2 separate regions of the Homo sapiens genome follow, and region 2 is linked to region 1. The links are contacts of gene promoters, found by promoter capture Hi-C in blood cells and fetal thymus (Javierre and others, 2016). All regions are on one chromosome and are shown on one strand. Each heading gives the region's core, a stretch centred on a gene start or on the middle of the fragment in contact. The rest is flanking DNA. Distances are from core to core; before and after follow the strand shown. Region 1 holds the start of CLASP1-AS1 (CLASP1 antisense RNA 1). Region 2 has its middle 3.3 kb from the start of TMEM185B.

Evidence for each region. The method cuts DNA at HindIII sites, captures the fragments that hold promoters and counts their contacts. A CHiCAGO score of 5 or more calls a contact.
Region 2: a contact is called between a fragment that was not itself captured here and the fragment with the promoter of CLASP1-AS1 in region 1, in 1 of 17 cell types (activated CD4 T cells). The highest score is 5.4, in activated CD4 T cells.

The regions. Positions count from the first base shown.
Region 1 is chr2:121,527,736-121,533,724 of GRCh38, forward strand. It overlaps CLASP1-AS1 (CLASP1 antisense RNA 1), which reads left to right and starts at 2,433. Exons shown (of 2, transcript XR_001739683.2): 1 at 2,433-3,040; 2 at 4,643-5,931. It overlaps CLASP1 (cytoplasmic linker associated protein 1), which reads right to left. Exons shown (of 41, transcript NM_001395891.1): 3 at 2,512-2,590; 4 at 942-1,045; 5 at 64-155. It overlaps RNU4ATAC (RNA, U4atac small nuclear), which reads left to right and starts at 3,145; the gene lies at 3,145-3,274. RefSeq lists a silencer at 2,303-2,502 and an enhancer at 2,693-2,822. The HindIII fragment of the contact is 3,511 bases long and covers 1,699-5,209 here.
Region 2 is chr2:120,223,858-120,229,538 of GRCh38, forward strand. No RefSeq gene overlaps it. Among named protein-coding and RNA genes, the nearest start is that of TMEM185B, 3.3 kb to the left of the region's middle. RefSeq lists an enhancer at 1-499. The HindIII fragment of the contact is 7,669 bases long and covers 1-5,681 here.

The sequences.
Region 1 (5,989 bases), core at 1,183-3,682:
TTCAAAATAAAAAGTTTTAAAAAATTCAGCCACGTAAAAATGTCAGGCTCATCCCAGACTTACGCATTGAGTGTTGCTATAAGGCAGAGACAGATGCCTTCTCGAGTACGGAAATTCTTGTGTTTGAAGCCTCCAAGCATTCTGTCCCATACGTACTGCAGATGACAAAGAACAGGTGAGGAAAGGAGAAGACTGCTGCAGCTGACACTTTATAAGGGAGCAATAGAAGGCAAGCCTCTTAACGAGCGCCAAATTAGTCCCATCCTCTACCAACACATTTAATCCTCTCGAGAGCATACTGGAAAATGATGACATCTATCATGTTATCAAGTATATCAAATTACAATTTTTAAAACACATTCATTTACATAATTGCATTTAATTCTCCCAAGAACCCTGAAAGAGAGGTATAACTGTCCTCATTTTATGGGTGAGGAAAGCAAGGCCAAAGGAGCTAGTGAGTTGCCAAAGATCACACACTCACACTGGCCTCTGTTTTTTCTGATCACCCCCCAATAAAGGACAGTAGAAGCTGGGAAAGCAGGGCTGTTTTGGTCCATCCCAGCAGCCCCAATTCACCGGAAGACAGGGGCCAGGGCTCCAGCCAGGCCTCCTGACTCCCCAGACACCACAGCTCCCTCTTTTCAGAGAATTGGAGAGTCGGTTACATAAATGAGCTGAAGAGTCTAATGGATTAAAACTAAGTATATTAGATTCAATACCCCCATGTTAAATCCACTAATTTACTCATCTCATAGTTTTGTGACTTATTTAAATATCTTGCATGGGGAAACAGATTGAATGCTGTGAAAATTTTTATCTGTAATACATCAGCTTAAGTCTATGGAGTCACACCATTTGTGCAAGTACACACACACACCCTCGCACGTGCATGCACGCGCACTGGCCAGCTGACCTCAAAACACATCTCTTGCCCCTACCTGGGGATTAGCAGCTTGATCCATGATCTTTAGCAGCAGAGTTTGGTCCTGCTCCCTCACAGAGTCTTTAGCATCTCCTAGTCTGTCTATTAGACTTGGCAGCACTGAAAATCAAAATGGAAACTGATCAAATGAAACCCTATTTGGGGGTCTGTGGTCACCAAGTATTCCTATCTCAATTATGTGGGAAGACAAACCCCTGACCTAAATGATGTATCTCATTCTAAAACCACTCATCTTTGCTCACAGCTCTACTCTCCTTGCTGAAGTCCATGAAAGTCACCAAAAGAGTCTGCAAAATCCTTTGCATGGACAGATACACTATTTGTCTTCCTCCTTACCCCACGTTCCTCCAGCCAGTTCCCAACGTATTTGTAAGCTGATAAAAATGGAAGACCTTGAGAGGAAGAGTCAACAGAAAGGAAAATTTAGGTAAAACACAAGGAGAGGGGCTCCAGTATATGTGTTTGGGGGTGGAAGGAGTGGGCACTTATGAATAAATCTTAAGTTTCATCACTATTGTGTATTTTTAGTTTTACATCACGCCCATACACACATGAGACAGAGCCCAGCTCTCCATCTTCCCCGACATACCCAGGGTGGACCCTCCCACCAGTGGTCCAAGTGCACCTGTAGACCAGAGATCAGCTTATTTTAAGAGTTTGTAAACCTCTATTACATGAGATATCCCTGAATAATTCAGCTAATTTAGGAGGAAAATGGAACACTATTAAAATATCAAATGTCTAAAAGTAAAAGCTTTTTTTAAATTTGTAAACAGTCGGTGCTCATGACCTTTTCAGAAGGAGCATATTGGTCGGAAAGTTAACAGTAAAGAATACATGTGTACCAACGTAAAACAGAGAAATTCCATAAGGAAATGGTTGCATAGAGATGCTTAGTGTTTATACTACCCCCATGAAACACCGGAGGTCAGGAATTTAGAGGTATTTAAATCTATGAAATCTGTGGGTTTTGTTTCATTTTGCTGACATACTGTTTTCCCTTCAAAATAAGAGTGAACATTTACTATACATTTGTAATGACATTTACAATCAAGGTGAAAATAGTCATGCCAACCATAATCATCTGGAGAAAAATACAACTGGCTTGGTTTTATAGGATTTCTCAAGGAAAACTGCCTCTCATTAAAGGGGACCGGGGTCAGGGTAAAATATGACTTGGTTGGCACTAAAGAGTGACAGCTAATTTAGCATAAGAAATAAAAATGGCACTAATATTTCATATTAGAACACGTATTACTAAGTTCCGTGTGAGAACACAGTGAAGCCAGTACAAAGGTATGGGGGAGGGTAAGGGCGCCCGCAGGCCCAGAGGCCAGGGGAGTCCAGCTGGAAGGGAAGGCAGCGGGGCGGCCGACCCAGGCTGCGAGTGCTTAGGGGGGCTGCGGGGGAGGGCGGGGACTGGCTGTTTGGGAGGAGCGGAAGGGAGGGAGAGGGGGCTGGAGGGGAGGCAGGGTGGCTGCCGGGAGGGTTTGGGAGCCGGGGAGGCCGAGGGAAGGCTGGGGGTCTGAAGGGGCCGGGTCCGCTCCACAAGTGCCGCAGCTCACCTGTGCCGATCTGCGCCTTGAACCGATCCTGCAGCCGGGTCACCAGGGCGGACAGGATGTCCATGCCCAGCAGAACCACCTGCAGCGGGAAACACCGGGAGCCTGTTAGCAGCCGGCCTGCGGGGCAGCGCTCCCGCCCACCCGCTCCGGGGAGGCCTAGACATTTCCGGCCCAGACGCAGTCCGAGAGTCCAGACGCATGCCGACTGGAGGACCAAAGAGATTAGCACGAAGAAGGATGATCTTCCACAAAAAGAGCTATGTACAGCTATAATGGAAAATACTCGGTGAGGAGAAACGAAATAAAAGGCAATACAGCGTAGCCAAACCCGGGTTAGCTGCGGGTGGAGTTCAAGAGCGCGCCGCGGTCCCGCCCCCGCCAGCCCCGCCCCGGCGAGAAAAGCGTATGCAAATTTTCGAGCGGCCGACGCGCGGTCTTCTGGGTAAAACCGAGCCGCCGCTTTTGCGACCCTTCGGGAGCCTCAGAAAACAAAGAATTGGGGTGTCGTCGAAAGCTGTGGAGGCTGGAGGTAAGCTAGCTACCAGACCGACTAGGGCGAGGCTCACGAATTAATTACCACAACCCTACCAGGTATTGGCGCTTCCTGCTTGCAGCCCAGGGACTTTCTATTATAACCATCCTTTTCTTGGGGTTGCGCTACTGTCCAATGAGCGCATAGTGAGGGCAGTACTGCTAACGCCTGAACAACACACCCGCATCAACTAGAGCTTTTGCTTTATTTTGGTGCAATTTTTGGAAAAATGAAAACCTGTTTTCATAGACTTATCAGTTCAAACAGCAGTAATTCGTAAATAAACTAGTACTTTGTGGTTAAACCAGTAGAGGGTGCACAAGACGCGTGGTTTTAGTGTCGCAAGTAAAGTTCTTTCAGTTTTTGCGGTGATTAAACGGGAAGGATTTCAACAGAACTTCACCCCTTTAACTTTACGCCGATCATCAACTGTTCTGTAACTTCCTTATGCTGAGTCAGCCCAGTAGTCTAGGTCAAGTTTCAATAGGAGACGAAGTTTCAGTAGGTCTTTGCACCTCACATAAAATGTAATCCAGGTCGGGCGCGGTGGCTCACGCCTGCAATCCCAGCACTTTGGGAGGCCGAGGGGGGCGGATCACGAGGTCAGGAGATCGAGACCATCCTGGCTAACACAGTGAAACTCCGTCTCTCCTAAAAATACAAAAAATTAGCCGGGCGAGGTGGCCGGCGCCTGTAGTCCCAGCTGCTCGGGAGGCTGAGGCAGGAGAATGGCGTGAATCCGGGGGGGTGGAGCCTGCAGTGAGCAGAGATCGCGCCACTGCACTCCAGCCTGGGCGACAGCGAGACTCCATCTCAAAAAAAAAAAAAAAATAGTAATCCCAGCACTTGGGGAGGCCGAGGCGGGCGGATCAGGAGCTCAGGAGATAGAGACCATCCTGGCCAACATGGTGAAACCCCGTCTCTACTAAAAATACAAAAATTAGCTGGGCGTGGCGGCGCATGCCTGTAGTCCCAGCTACTTGGGAGGCTGAGGCAGGAGAATCGCTTGAACCTGGGAGGCGGAGGTTGCAATGAGCCAACATCGGGCCACTGCACTCCAGCCTGGCGACAGAGCAAGACTCGGTCTCAAAAAAAAAAAGAAAAAGAAATGTGAAATAGTGAGCTTTTTGTGGAATGGTCCAATAGTCAGATTAAACCCTTCCTCCGTATGAAGCAGTTTTGCACTGTGAGACTTCATTAAACATGCTTCCAACACAAAGCCGGGCACTGCCCAATGTTCACACAACAACCAAACAGGACGGGGCAACAGTTAGGATTTCTTGTATACAGCCTGTGCCTGCCTGCCTCTGGCGGCTGATAAAAGCAAAAACTGCAGACTTTTCTATTCAGCTTTGAAATCTACTGCTTCAAAACTGAAGGAATCTAAATTGGCCCAATAATCCCCACAATACATAAAATGTTCTTGCAAGAAACTGGCTACTTGACAATATTGAAGAAAATAATTTTTAAAACTTTTATAAAGAGAACAATTTGTAAACAGATTTTTTAAATAATATAATAATGGTATAAACACTTTAAAATAATGACTCTACTTTCCAGCTAAAAGGGATTAGGTTTCACACTATGACTTCCTTCCAGAGTACAGTATGAAGTGGAGGAGTAACTATCCTGCGGAGAAAACTGACAGACGCAACCTCAGCCAGATGGTGGAGGTCAACATCAAGTACACGTCATATGATGTCATGAAAACGGCATTTTGCCTGTGACAGTCCTTCCCAAGACCCTTAAGCTCAGTCTAAACATGAGGAAAACATCAGAGAAATTCCAATAGAGGGGCATCCTACAAAACACCTGACCAGTACCCCTCAAAACTGTCCAGGTCATCAAAAACAAGAACTCTGAGAAACTGTCACAGCAACAGGAGCCAAGGGAAACATAACAACTAAAGGTAATGAGGTATCCTGGAAAAGAGTGTGCAACAGAAAGATGACATTTTTCCTTAGGTAGAAACTAAGGAAATATGAATAAAGCATGAACTCTAGTTAATAATAATACATCAATACTGGCTCATTAATTGTAATAAACCACATTAATGTTAGATATAATAATGAGATATTTGTAATTTTTCTGTAAAAAAGTTTATTTTTTAAAAAGAACAGCCCATCACTTAAGTGAGTTATTTAGCTTTTGTCTGGTGAAATCTTAAGCTTATCTGCACAGTTGCATTACTGGTTGCAGGTAGGGGTGTTATTCATGACAGAAACATCCCTTCATACATCGTTCAAGGCTAAGGTAAAGAGGACTATTGTTTATTTGGGGGAAAGCTGACGTCAGCTTTTCCAGGATGGCAGTTTACTTGGTAGGTCTGAGCAGAGAAGGCCTCGCTAAGCCCCGGACAGTCAAGTTTCAATGCGTTGCCTAGAGGAACTGGGGAGCCTGGAAACTCCCGAAGAAGACTGAGTGGGTAGATGCACCTGAGCCCCAGAGAAATAGGACAGGAGAGGTCCAGGGTGTCAGCCAGGAGGACAGAAGGCAGTTCCAGGCACTTTCACAGCTCAGGCCCTTCTCCTGGGTTTCCATTTCCCTACTGAAGAAAGGGATACATGAAAAAGTCCTTGCCCAGAAGACCACTCTGATAATTAACTATAAAAACCTCTTTGTGCCTAACCTCCTCATCTGTAAAACATGGACAATAATAACAGCTGCCTCGTGGGTTGTTGTGAGGGTTAAATAAAGTGTGTATGTAAACTGTGCCTGGCACGTGGTAAGGGTACTTTTTTTTTCCCCCTATTTCTGCTTTCTTCAGCCCTTAGGTTTATAAAACCAACTTCTTCTGCATGGCTCACTGGAATACACAATTCTGTTTTATGGAATGAGGTGTTACCTGATTCTAAAGTCACGAATAAAAGTCAATCAAAATCTTTAAATTTGTTGTAATTTTTTTCTTCCAACACCATTAACTCTGCGTGACCCTTGACTCTGACA
Region 2 (5,681 bases), core at 1,549-4,048, 1.3 Mb before region 1:
TCCCAGGCGGCAGCGGCGCTCTTGTACCTGTCCCTCTCACTCCAGAGTGGAAGGTGCTGGTGAGGGTGTTAGACCCCACTCGGGAGGAAACTGGATCCAGACCAGGGTTGGGGGTTGCTTTCTGCCCCAGGTCACCCGGCAGGTTAACAGAGAATCGCGTCGCAGATACAGGGCTCCTACCTTCAAGTGTCTAGTCCTCATTTTGACTTATTTGGCCCTGTCTCTGTGTTATTCTCGCAAAACCATGTTTTCCTTTTCCTTTGGAAAAGGGTACTGGACCAGAGGTCAAGAGATTTGGGTTCTTGTCCAGGCCGTGCCACCCATCAGCTGAGAAACCTAGGCAAATTCACCTCTTTCTCTCTGGGCCTCAGTTTCCTGGTCTATGAAGTTGGGGGACAGACCTGGGTGGTGTCTAAGGGCAAGGCTGCAGCGGGTCTGTGATTTGGAGCACCCCTTTCGCCCTCTGGCCATCTGGGCAGACCCTGGAGGATTTCTGTCTTCCCCGCTGTCCCACTGCTCAGCAGAGCCCTGGCTGCCCTCACCAGTCTCTCCTAGTCCTCTTTTCCTGAAGTGGCTGTGGGATGTTGTCACGCAGGTCCTGGGCTCTGAAGTGGGACAGGCCATCAGAGGAACGCATGGCCTGTCAGGGCCTCCGCGGAGTGGCCCTCCCGCACCCTCACAGCACTGCCCCAGGCGGGCATGAGCAGGGTGTCCAGGTGTCGGGCGGACAGTCCCAGCCCCCGAGGCGCTCTCCACAACTTCACTTCAGCCACAGGCAATCTGTGGCCCTGGGGAAGGGAGTCCAGCTGAGTGAGCTTCACCAGTCCTCAGGCTCAGCCCTTAAGGCTGACTTCATAGATGTGTCTTCAGGGCCTCTTGTTTCTGGAGAGCCTTATCTCCCTCCATTCCTCCCCTAAACAGAGTTGCTCCAATCTGTCTGTTTTACACATTGGTCTTTTTTGTACTCTTTTCTCCCAAGAAGGATTTGTCAACTAAAAATTTGTAAAAGTGGAAAACCCCCTCACCAATCCAACCTCTTCATCTGTGAAATGGGCTTGGAAAAGCACACAGGATTGTTTTGAGGATTAGATGAATCAATACATGGAACTTTGCACTTTGCATTTAGAGACCTGCAAGTAATTGATTTGACCCCACTAGGAAAGCAGAGCCCGTGGAGGGGAGGCGCTGCCAGGAGCGCCCCCACCCTCCGGGAGCTGGTGGCAGAGTCAGGTCCTCTGGACCCTGCGAGAACAGTCAGAAGTCCTTCCCAATCACCTATGTAGTCAGATGAACTCAGGGCCTCTGCTGCCATCTTTGTGGCAAAGACAGAGCTCGGAGCTTATTTTCCCACCTTGAGCTCCTCATTCAGAACAAGTGCACCCTCTCCATCCAAGAAGCGGGTATCAAGGTGTCCTGTCACAGTGCAACAGTGGCTCTGCTGCACAGCTCCTGAGGGAGGGCAGACCCAGCTTCCAGGCTTGTGCCACAGGGTGAGGGATGCTGTCTGCCATCTGTCCCCAGCTGGCTTCCTTTGGCCTGCAGGCCTTGACCCCTCCCCCATCATGCCCTGGGCATCAGACACCCCTCCTTCACTGTTTTCCCTGATGCGGCCAGTCTCTCAGACACCCGCCTTTGTCTTTTATTTACCTGTAAAGCTAACATGGATTGTTTGCTATGTGCCAGGTGCTGGCGGCATAGCAGTCCCCAAGGCTGGTACACAAACCAAAGTGTGAATTCATTCACTTACAGGTGGTGTGTGTGGATGTGGTGTTCCAGGCCACCGGCACGGGCTGCTATCCCCCAGTCAGGGTGTGCGGGGGCACATGGCCCCAGAGGGCAGGGGCTGACATGGTTTGAAGGTCACTGTCCTAACGGTTGGGGAAGTCCTGGGATGTGTCCTAACCCCAGCCTCTTTCCCCTGCTTGGCATCCTCAGTCCCAACTTTCCTGTCTGAACTGTAAGGCTCTCCTGAGCTGATCCCGGCACACCTGGTGGCCAGGTCCCTTATGGTCCATGTACCAGCCCAGCCAGTCTGCTGCTTCCCCCTGAGTGTGGCCCACCCCGACATGGCCTCTGTCTCCTTCCTGGGCACCAAGACCCACGACAGGGCTTCAAGCCCTGAGAAACCTCGACCCCTGGTGGACCAGTGACCCTTCTCTCACCTCCCACAGCATCTGGGTGCCAGAGGTGGGGTAGGGGCAGGCGGGGACCTTGTTCCTATCCTGGGACTCATTTCCCTGGGTGTTGTCTGTTTGGCCTTCTGTCCTTTCATGAGATTTGAGCTCCAGACACCCAGCTAGCACTTATATCGTAGCAAATGTTTGAGAGACGTTGGCTGAATGAGTGAAGGAATGCATTTAACACTACTCATGACTGCGATGCTCCTGTCCCAGAGGAGATGCTCCTGTGGCCAGCGTGGCACCGATAGTGGGACCTGTGTCCTTTCATCACCAGCATCCTAGGCCCTGTTCCCTCCACTCTCCAGCCCAGGTGATCTTTCTTCCTCGGTAACCAATTGCCACAGGTGTATCAGTTTAAAGCAGCAGTCAGTTACTGTCCGCCATGAACTGAGAGTCAGAAGTCAGCATCATATGCCCAGCCAGTGCTCCGCTTGAGTCACAAGGCCAAGATCTCGGTGTGGGCACTCCGGCAGTGAACCTGCATTCGAGTTCTGTGTTGGCAGGATGCAGTTCCATCGAGTTGTGGGACTGAGGTTCCTGTTGCCTTGCCAGCCATGGGCCTCGGGGTTCATTCTCAGCCCCTTGTATTTCCTGACTTGTGGCCTCCTTCAAAGCCACCCGTGGTGGGTTAAGTCCTTATGTCTGGAGTCTCTCTTCTGCCTTCCTTGTTTTGAGGGCTTCTGTGATTACTTTGGGTTACTCAGCTAACCCAGGATCACCTCTCTATTTTAAGGTCAGCCTGTTAGTAACCCCAATTCCATCTGCAAATTCCTTAGAATTCTGCTCCGTACCAGCGGTCAGGCCCAGCTCGGCTCTTCCTGCCCCACAACAGCCACTGCTTAGCAAGAGCTGAGCTGGGTTTCCAGGGAGAGCGAACTCTTGCCTGGCACCCTCCACAGCAGACCAGGGTGACAGTGACACCTGGGCATGGTCCCAGTCAGAGCAGCTGGAAGCTGGTGGGAGTTAAGTTTTCCCTGTAGCCCTCTGGCTGCAGGACATGGGATGCCTTTGCTGAATGTCCTCTGAGGGGCTGGCTTGGGACAGGGGGATGACCTGCGCAGAAAGCCCAGGGAAAATTTCCCTTTTGGCCGGATTTGTGGATTTGCTCATATCAACTTCTTCACAAGGAATCCACAGCCCACCTGGCCCTTGTGCCAGCCTCATTGCCCACCATTACCCCTTGGCCCCAGTCTCTAAATGAAGAGCACGCTGTCACCTCTACAATAGCCTCCTCCCATCTCCCTGCCCCCCCCCACTGCCAGCACACACATACCAGTGCAGTAGTATGCCCGTGGGCATGGACTTGAGTCACCCCAGCCCAGGTGCGAGTCCAGACTCTGTGAACTTGACAGATGACTTAGTTTCCAGCCCCGATCTGTGAAATGGAGATAACCTCCCAAAACTGTGACAGCAAAAGGAAACAATGTAGGAAACCTACAATGCCTCCATTATTTCCCCCCAGTGGTGGCTGTTAACTGCCTCTCAGCAGCAGATTGTGTGTCCCCTCCCTCGGGTCCCACAGGGTATCATCCTGTTTGCTCATCTGACTCTCTGGACTCCCTGTGACTTTCTCAAGGACAGGGACCCATCTCTTATCTCTGTTAGCAGTTTCCAGCACAGGCTCGTACATGGTAAGTGAATCTGGAAAGTGCATGCGGGCAGGAAGACAGGAGCTGATGTGACATCTCCTGTGGGCTGAGCAGCGAGCACGGGAACCTTCCTGAGACAAAGCAGCTTGTCTGAAGCTCACAGGTCCCAGTGTTACAGGGAGGTGCTGACAGTTCCCAGTGTTACAGGGAGGTGCTGCTGGGCTCGCATGAGGACCTCCTGGAGCGTGACAGCCCCTCACGCTCGCACGTGGCTTAATATTTCAAAGCACGATATCATCTGGAGCTGACTTCAGAGACAGAGGTGGCAAAGCACTAACCTCATTTGACAGATGGGGAAACAGGCCCAAGACCCACAACCATGGTTCTCTGCTAACTCTGCAGCTGCATACTTTCCACAGGGCCCTGCTGTTGGCCAGGTGGGCGTCCCTGCCCTGTTTATCAGCTCAGTCCAGTGAGAATGGCTCCCTGAAGAGCCAGACTCTGGCTGGGACCCCTTGAGACTTAGGCTCCTGTTTTAGCAGCTTTTTCCTTCCTTAACCCGTGTATTCATTTAACAAATACATATCAAGCATCTTCCCTGTGCCCCAGGTCCTTGTCCTGGATACACATGTAGCAATGAACTCTTCAGGTGGCTTCTCCTGTGCTGGTCCCTTCTCAGTTCAGGTGTCACCTCCTTCAGGGTCACCTCCTTGACTACCCCACCCAAAGTCATTCTCTCACTTGCGTCTCCTTATTTCTCCTTTTTTTATATGGTCACTTTAGAAAAAGCTGGAAAACGCAGACTCGTTTAAAGAAAGAAAATGCTGTAGTCTTAGCACCTACAGAAGATCACTGTGAACATTTTACTGTGTTTTTCCTTCCAGTCGGTCTACTCGGCAAAGAGATGTCATCCTCCACATACCCATTTGATTCTGCTTTTTTACTTATGGTTAATTCTAAAACTCACTTCACATTTTAACGTCTCTGGATCTTGCACTGTACAGTGGCTGATGTTTTACAGGCACTGTCAGCTGGTGTTAACATTCAGTTCTTTCTAGAGGTGGTTGTATTTGTTTCTGCCAGTCACCTGGGGGCACTGCCAACTTGACATAACCTTAAACTTAAATTCAGTTACAGCATTTGCTTGAGGTGTTTCCAGACCATATGTTTGTGCAAATTCAGACTCAAACCAGCATGAGTACTGGCTTGTGCACGTCCTCAGGGGCAGTTTTGTTCCCTCCCTGCATCCGGGTCCATGGCTGGGACACTGGCTCTTTCTGCCTGACGAGGCTGTTTATCATTCTCCTCCCACCAAAGAAATAGCCCTTTAGGATCCCAGCTTTACTTAGACGTCCCTTATTAAATAACCATTCTGGGTATTTTTTTCTTCCTTAAAGGTACGTGAAATGGTGGTGTGTTCTCTAATCAACAGTGTCTTAAATGTGATGAAATGCCATAGATAGAAACACTTCTCAGATTTCCATAAACATGTGAGCATGTTTTCAGTGGCCCCACAATATTACATTAAGGGTAGTGCAATACTTTACTCACCCATTGCATTGTGTATTTGAGTTAGTTTCATTCTTTTATGAAATGAAGGGACTGCGCTCTATCTTACGGCTTCTTTGCATCCAGATTGTTTTTAAGGGTAGATTCTCAGACACAGACATGCCATGGTGAAGGAATGAATACAGTAGTCCCCCCTTATCTGAGGTTTATCTTTCCAAGTTTTCATTTACCTGCAGTACACCGAGGTTTGAAAATATTAAATGGAAAATTCCAGAAATAACTCCTAAATTTTAAATGACACTCTGTTCTGAGTAGCGTGACAAAATCTTGCTCCATCTAGCCTGGGACGTGACCCCTCTCTTTGTCCAGCATCTTCACACCGGGCGTGCTCCCTGGGCGATCA